3 separate regions of the Homo sapiens genome follow, and regions 2 and 3 are each linked to region 1. The links are contacts of gene promoters, found by promoter capture Hi-C in blood cells and fetal thymus (Javierre and others, 2016). All regions are on one chromosome and are shown on one strand. The core of a region is centred on a gene start or on the middle of the fragment in contact, and the rest is flanking DNA. Distances in the headings are between cores, read along the strand shown. Region 1 overlaps INCR1 (interferon stimulated noncoding RNA 1). Region 2 holds the start of RLN1 (relaxin 1). Region 3 holds the start of INSL4 (insulin like 4).

What was found. The method cuts DNA at HindIII sites, captures the fragments that hold promoters and counts their contacts. A CHiCAGO score of 5 or more calls a contact.
Region 2: a contact is called between the fragment with the promoter of RLN1 here and a fragment that was not itself captured in region 1, in 4 of 17 cell types (non-activated CD4 T cells, activated CD4 T cells, naive CD4 T cells and 1 more). The highest score is 8.2, in non-activated CD4 T cells.
Region 3: the fragment with the promoter of INSL4 here is called in contact with a fragment that was not itself captured in region 1 in 8 of 17 cell types (activated CD4 T cells, endothelial precursors, naive CD4 T cells and 5 more); the score reaches 11.1 in activated CD4 T cells.

The regions. Positions count from the first base shown.
Region 1 is chr9:5,603,410-5,606,109 of GRCh38, forward strand. All of the region lies in intron 1 of INCR1 (interferon stimulated noncoding RNA 1), which reads right to left. Among named protein-coding and RNA genes, the nearest start is that of RIC1, 24 kb to the right of the region's middle. The HindIII fragment of the contact is 704 bases long and covers 982-1,685 here.
Region 2 is chr9:5,338,619-5,341,318 of GRCh38, forward strand. It overlaps RLN1 (relaxin 1), which reads right to left and starts at 1,258. Exons shown (of 2, transcript NM_006911.4): 1 at 918-1,258. The coding sequence starts at 1,128. It also overlaps a transcript of RLN2 not described here. The HindIII fragment of the contact is 10,294 bases long and covers 1-2,700 here.
Region 3 is chr9:5,230,052-5,232,751 of GRCh38, forward strand. It overlaps INSL4 (insulin like 4), which reads left to right and starts at 1,368. Exons shown (of 2, transcript NM_002195.2): 1 at 1,368-1,668. The coding sequence starts at 1,473. RefSeq lists a promoter at 645-1,462. The HindIII fragment of the contact is 5,637 bases long and covers 997-2,700 here.

The DNA.
Region 1 (2,700 bases), core at 84-2,583:
ACTTCTAAAATAGAAGAGAGAAAAATGGAAAAAGAAAACAAACTTACAAACAAAAGCCCAACCCCAATCAACTGAGTAGAGAGCAATAAAGGAAAAGGGGGAAAGCCAAATAAAAGTTGGACAAATAAAAATTAAAAGTGTGGTGGTAGAAAATGTCTAGATATATTAATAATTATAATAAATATAAATCTAAACTTTATAGTAAAAGACAGATTGGGGAACAAACAAACAAAAAACCTCTAACTACATGCTCTTTCAAAAGAAAAACCTAAAACTTAAGACACAAAATGGTTGAAAGATGTAGCAGGAAAACAGTAACCAAAAAAACAGAAGTGTATATTAAAAATCACACAAAATAGACTGATGAAAATAGGTATCGTTAGAGTTAGAGAGGGACCACTACTTGATTTTTATAAACGTTCCAATTGTCAGTGATATAATAACTTCAAAGTTTTACACCTAGAAAAATTGTTTCAAATATATAAAGCAAATATTTACTGAACTACAAAGAGAAATTGCCAATGAGAGCTTTCAATATATCTCTCTCAATTACCAACAGACCACCCAAAGCAAAGATATTAAAAATATGGAAGATCTGAACAACACAATTAATAACAATCAAATAGATAAAAATTCTGCATCCAACAGTTGGCAAATGCACTTATTTTTCTTAAATATCATAGTGCAATTACAAAAATTGTCCATTTATTAGACCATATGGCAAGTCTCACAAAATTATAACACAGTCCTCATTCTCTGTGCGCAAAGTAATTAAGTTAGAGGCAATAACAAAAGATAAATCTATAAAAGTTCTTATATATTGAAAAATGTGGAAACACACTTGTAGGTAATTCATGTGTCAAAGAAAAAATTATGGAAGAAATGTAAAAATCCTAAAAGCCGAATGATAATGAAAATATCACCTACCATGTTCTGTAAAACAGTCAAAGTCATTCTCTAAGGACAATTTATTAATTTGAAAGCTTGTTTCAGACAAGAAGAAAGGTTAAAAATTAATGAGCTTTGTGTTCAACTCAAGAAATTAGGAGGAAAAATAGAAAAACAATCAAAGTAGGAGGAAATAGATAACAGAGATAAAAACAGAGGTTCAGAAAAAAGTAAACAAAGCTACAAAAAAAGAATCCACAAAATTAAAAGTTTTATTTTATAAACAGAACAATCTCTGCTGAGATTGAGCGAGGAAAAAAAAAGAAGGCACAAATAAGCAATATTAGAATAAAAAGGGACCTAATCACAGACAAGGCAAAGATTTTTTTAGATGAGCTACTCTGAATCAATTTAGGCCACATATTCAAAAACTTAGGTGAAATGGGCAAATTCCTAGAAAACTATAATTTACCAAAACTTACTCAAAAACAGAGAACCTGAATTGTTTTGTATCTACCAAAGAAATGCAATCAATATTTTTAAATCTTCCCACAAAGAAAATATTTAGTTCAGATATGTTTACAAATTACTTACACCTAGGTTTCAAGAACGAGATCATTCCAATCTTTAAAAATGTCCTATAAAACAGAAAAAGAGGGACTATGACACAATTCACTCAATGATATTAACGTAACCTTGATAGCAAAACCAAAGAAGGACAGGACAATAAAGAAACCTTTTGAACCAATCTCACTCATAAACATAGCTACAAATTCAAATTAAATACTAATGAAACAAGCTTAGGAGTTTATTTCAAATAGATAATACATCATAAACAAGTTGAGTTTAACCAGAAATGCAAGCGCAGTTAAACATTAGGAAATAAAAAATATGGCTAGGCATGGTGGCTCACACCTGTAGCCCCAGTGCCTTGAGAGGCCAAGGTGGGTGAATTACTTGAGCCCAAGAGTTAGAGACCAACCGGGGCAACATGGTAAAACCCCGTCTCTACCAAAAAAAATACAAAAATTAGCCAGGCTTGGTAGCACATGCCTGTAGTCCCAGCTACTTGGGAGGCTGAGGTGAGAGAATCACTTGAGCCTGGAAGTGAAGGTTACAGTGAGCCAAGATGGCACCACTGCCCTCCAGCCTGGGCAACAGAGCAAGACCCTGTCTCAAAATAATAATAATAATAATAATAAAGAAAAGAAAATATAAAAATATAATTCATTGGCCAGGCACAGTGGCTCATGCCTGAAATCCCAGCACTTTGGGAGGCCAAGGCAGGTAAATCACCTGAGGTCAGGAGTTTGAGACCAGCCTGACCAACATGGTGAAACCCTTTCTCTGCTAAAAATACAAAAATTAGCCAGGTGTGGTGGCACACACCTGTAATCCCAGCTACTCGGGAGGCTGAGGCACGAGAATCGCTTGAATCCAGGAGGCAGAGTTTGCAGCGAGCTGAGATCGCACCATTGCACTCCAGCCTAGGCAGCAAGAGTGAAACACCATCTCAAAAACCAAACAAACAAACAAACAAACAAAAATATATATATATATGTAAAATTTACCGCATTAACAGACTACAGGGGAAAAATATGATAATCTCAAAAGATGCAGCAGATAATGAGCAGACTTATTAAAATCAGGAACAAGACTTAGAAGTCCTATTTACTTCTACTCAACATTATAGTGGATTTTCTAAGTGCATTAAGACAAGAAAAAGCAGCAACAAGTACAAAGATTGGGAACAGCAATAAAAGGTAGGAGTATTGGAATATACTTCATTCATAAGGATATAATTCTCTAAAC
Region 2 (2,700 bases), core at 8-2,507, 260 kb before region 1:
AAATATTTTTAAAAGCCATTTCAGATTGAGCTGTACTCAACTCTAAGAGCTTGCCTTTAAAGCAAACCCACTGCAGCTTCCAAATGCTTGAAAGCATCAGTAGGGTCTTCAGCTATGATGGTCTGAACGGCCTGCTTTCCTTGTCTCTGGTCCTCTTGAGTTTCTCCTAAAGGCATTCAAGCCTTTCCTTTCTCTTCCATCCCCTGCCTCACAAATGAACTTCAATACCCAGATCAAAGAAGCGGGAGGTCAGACTCTTTCCTTTGGGATTTTCTGTTTGTTTATTTTAAAGAACGTTTCCAATGGCAAAGGCCACAGCCCAACTTCTGGACTAGGAGAGTCATTAAGTGTAAGGCCCTTCCTGTCTTCCCATCACGGGACCCTCACAGAGACCTCAGAGTGTTGCCCCGTCCTACAGGCGCGCAAACAGGCTTGATAACTAGCGCGCCGCCTCAGTGTTTGTCCCCTCTCCTCTCTATCCGAGAAGCCCTGTTCAGGTGCCCCCACCAGCACGCCCGCTGTCTGGCCGCCTGGCTTTCCTGTGGGGTGCAGGAGTGCGCCCGGCCTCCTGCGGGTCTCCGGGCGGCGTCACCTCCTCTGAGGCTTCCCCTCCCTTTCCACCCCGTCGCTCTGACTGCCTTACGGAAAGGGCACCAAGGAACTCTCGGGTGAAGCAGCTTCCTGTTCTCAGTGCTTTCCCTCCGTCCGGTGAGATTCCCAGTGAGACTGTTTGAATAAAATCACCTGGCAAAGGAAAAGCCCAAACTTTAGGGACCAGCCACGGCTGAGTAGGGGCTGAGCGGTGGCAGCCAATGAGATCTCGAGTCGGACGTGCAGGCCGCCGTTCCAATTGGGCGGCCGCCCCAGAGTAACCAATGGGAAGCGCGGGAAGGCCGGGAGGGGGCGGGAGCTCTCACCTGCCACTGGTCTAGGTGTCTGAGGAGCATCTTCCTGGCTCAGAGACCTTTTGCTCCAGGTGCTCATGCCGCAAATGGCAATCTGCGCGCGAACTAATTCGCGGCCGCATAATTTAATAACATCGTCCTTCCATTTGGCCGCGACTGCTCTGGAAAATTGGTTCAGTAGTAAACAGAATTCTAGCAGGTGGAACAAGAACAGGCGAGGCATCCTGGGCCTGGTCTCTCCTGGAGGTCTGGGTGTTGCAGCCTTTCAGGACTGCGGCTGCTGTGGCCTACACACCTGGGCCTGTGTGCCTGTCCCGGGCTTTAGGCTGCTTTCCCTACCCGGCTCAACCAGTCTTTAGTATGGGCTATCACTCAGCTTTTAAGGCAAGGTTGCCAGCTCCACCCCTTTCCCACACCCCTCCACAGAATTTTCTCCTTCAGCTCTTGTTCTGCCTCTCCGCCCTTCCTTCATTTGCCCATTCCTCTGTCCTTGGCCCTTTTACAGTTTTGTTTTTCGCTCTTTTGTTACCCTGAAACAACTTTGTATACTTAGGTAAAGTTATTTTAGATATGAAGCCTTTCTTTTTACATACACAGAAATAAAATTGAGATCGCCAATATTCTTACAACCCAGTTTTCCAGAGTGAACATTTGCCAAAAACCCTTCTAACCTAAATAGGATTATAGATTACCTTATAAATTGGATTAATTAGTATAATGTTGGGCATATCAATCCATAAAAATATAATGGATGAATGAATAAATTGTTGATGAGAGGGAAAACTGATGACTTTTAATCTGAATCCAGGTAAAAAGATTAAAATCCCCAGTAACATCATTTTAGGCTTGTGCAGTAATGTCTTTAATTTACAAAACAATTTCTCCATTGGACTTTCCTTCCACTCCTGTGGGAGAAGTTTGATTGTAACTAGTTGTCTAAATATTTTAATTTAAAATTCTAGTCTATGTCTCTGGAGACTGGAGAACACACCACACACACAGAGAGAGAGAAAGAGAGAGAGAAAAGAAGAAGAGAAAGAAGAAGGGGAAAAAAAGCAGTGGACATCCCACATTCCCAGAAATAATATTTTGATAACAAATTACAGCACAAGGATATGTTCATTTGTTTACTGTATTTTGTGTTTGCTGCACCTGGTTAGAGGTGATTCTTTTTTTATTACCACCACCTAATTTAGCATTTTAAAGATCCACACAGTTCTAGATAATATGGTTAGTAGACGACCCTTCTACCTGTAAATTTTTAGTACAAATAGGTTCATTTTTAAAAATAACTTACTTGCTTGTGTTCATAATATACTCAGATTAGTTCAGCTCCATCAGATAAACTGGAGACATGCAGGACGTTATGGTAGCTTTGAAATAAAATAATAACAATCTCTTAGTTACAAACATAACTATGGAATCAAGTAATTCTAATTTCTAGATTGCTGGTGATTTCAGTAGGCCCACTTAACATTGGTCAAATGCCAAGCAATGTGTAATTCTTCAAAAAATACCTGACCAAAGCTATGAGATGGTTAGAGGCAATTAATGATTTTAAATGGATTTTCACTAAAACACACAGTTTGAGAAAGGCCTCTCAAAACTGAGGTTTGAAAATATTTTCGTGGGTTAACAGTCCTTGTAAAAACAATCCACGTGCTAGGCTGTACTCCAAATTAATTGCTCATTAAAAATGTAAATTTCCAGAGTTTTTTGTTTGTTTTTGGGTGATTTTTTTGAGACAGAATTTGGCTCTTGTCACCCAGGCTGGAGTGCAATGGTGCAATTTCGG
Region 3 (2,700 bases), core at 118-2,617, 370 kb before region 1:
CACGTCTGCAAGCCCTCGAGGCTGCCTTGGAATTTGTGGGGGAGCGACAAGATGCCCTAGCATTCTGATAGCAATTAAACTGTGACTGGGAGCATAAACATATCTGTGTCACATTTTTACCTTGGAATCAATCAATACATAGTTGGGATGAGGTGAAACAACACCTCTGGGGAAACTTTCATGACAATTTAACAGCAGACGTAAAGCAACTTAAAACTAAAATTTTAGAATCCCTTCACATGATAGATCTACATACTCAACAAACAGCCATATGGAAAGGTGTGCAAGATCATTTCTCCTGGTTATACCCCCGATCCTGGGGGTCACACTTTGACTGGAAAGGAATGTTACTAATTATACTCATGATTGTCTTACGTTATTTGCTAATTCTATGATGCAAAGCCGGAATAAAAGCAAAACCTAACAAACCTGTTGCTGCACACATCTGTACTCTTAAGTCAACAGAACCCGATGCAAAGAACAGAAAGGGGGGAGATGTGAGAGTTCAGTCAGGCTGGTGGGAAAATTTTTTCAGATAGTTATAAGAAAAAGACGCAAACCTTTTTGAAACGCCGGAGGGGTTTGTATAAGCTCCAGTAATAGATCAGGCTGAAGGCAGCCTAATCCTTACCTTGAGTTAATAGCTTAAGGCACAGATACAAATGAATGTAGTTTATCTAGTTTGTTTACTCATGTGGTCCTAAGACTAATCTTTGATCAACCGCGGGTGCATAATTGCTCTCTACTCGGGAGGTTGGCAATGTCAATTACCTTCTAGTGGTGTTTACTCAAGACCTTCGTCATTTAATCTATGCTGAATAAATGTGAGCTTTGCTGGCTGATCGGGGCCACGGCTGCAACTCTTTACAGCACCCTCCTTGGTGTCTGTAGGTGGCCCGGACCCTCAGCTGGACTGACAGGCAAACTATCTGTGTCAGTGTATGTTATTCATCCGTCGTTGGGTCAGGGTCTGTGGGACAGACCCCCGCAATTAAAAGCTTATATGCCAAATGTTAACTAAGATAATTTCTAGCCAATGAGCTTACAGGTCAGTTCTATTTTTATTTCATCTAAGCAAAGGACATTAAAAATTACCATTATTTTAGTAAGCATAAAAATAGTATTACAGGAGGAAAGTTAAGAAAAAGAAGTAGAACAACCAAATTCAAAACAAGCAAAGTGCAGCAGCACATTGGGAGCAAAGAGGGATATGAGAGTGTGGGTAGGGCAAGTAGGGAGACTAAATAAGAACTGAGGGAGAAAGTTCCTTGTAGGTGGGTGGGAAAGGGGTGGAACTGACACCATTGACGCAAAAGCTGAGTAATAGCCCTAAGCAAATAAATGCCTGATGAAGGCATGCAGAAAGCAGTCTGGAGCCCAGAAGGGACACACCAGCACAGTCTGGTAGGCTACAGCAGCAAGTCTCTAAAGAAAGGCTGAGAACACCCAGAACAGGAGAGTTCAGGTCCAGGATGGCCAGCCTGTTCCGGTCCTATCTGCCAGCAATCTGGCTGCTGCTGAGCCAACTCCTTAGAGAAAGCCTAGCAGCAGAGCTGAGGGGATGTGGTCCCCGATTTGGAAAACACTTGCTGTCATATTGCCCCATGCCTGAGAAGACATTCACCACCACCCCAGGAGGGTGGCTGCTGGAATCTGGACGTCCCAAAGGTGAGAGCCCTGGACTACCAAACAATCAGAATGAGGCCTGAAAAAACAGGCTCCAGATCTCATTGACTGCCTGTAGTCAACTCAGACTCTACTGTGGCTAGTGCCTACAAGTTTGTGGTTTTTCATTGTAATGTGCTTTTATTAAAAGGGTCTCACCAGAAATCTCATGGGAAGTTGGGGGTAGAGGAGAAGCTGCAGGAAAAACAGAAGAACAGCCTCACCTTGGAGGCTCTTGGTGCCTTTCCCACCTGGCAGCCAGAGATACAGGGTGGAGAAAACAGGGAATCCTCAGAGAAGGTGACTATTCTCAAACACCAGCAGGAGGTGAGGTGTACTCCCAGACCCCCAGGAAAGCTGGGCAGGCCAGAAAACAGGTGTGATTGCAATGAGATGCCTGGGCCAGGCATCTTCAATTAAGAAGAAAGGGGACAAACAGTGAGGTGATGAGCTGATTATCATTTCTGTTTATGCACCTATTGGCCTAGGGGCAGCACACTGAGACCTCTGTTAGGTTCCTGGAATGTGAGATAAAGGGGGCTTAGATTTAATAACTCTCATCCTTTGTCATTAAGCTGGGCAGTGGTCTATGTCACCAAAAACGTCCTCTTACAAAAAAGTTTTTTTTAATGCACACCAACAGAGCACCTTGCCTCCCATTTCTTTGAATCTACTCTTGTAGTGTGTTGAGAGAGATGAGATGAAGAGAAAGAAAGTGGCCTGGATGACTAGAGGGGAAATTGAAGGGGACCAGAGACAAGGGAATTTCACTGTTCAGACCATCATAGCTGATTTGATTAGTGTTTTCAACATTTGAGACTGCAAAGCATTTTCTTTAAAAGCAAGATTTCAGAATTGAGGAAAGTTCAATACCAGGATAGTTTTCAAACTTTACCAAGTAACAAGGTATTCATAAAGATAAATTGCCAGCTAAGTTAAAACTAGCAGGGGCAGTTTCGAAAAGAGATAGAGGCTACTATATTCTGTCTAATAGGTCGTATTAAGTTCTGAAAAGCTAAGTTAAATTACTAAACA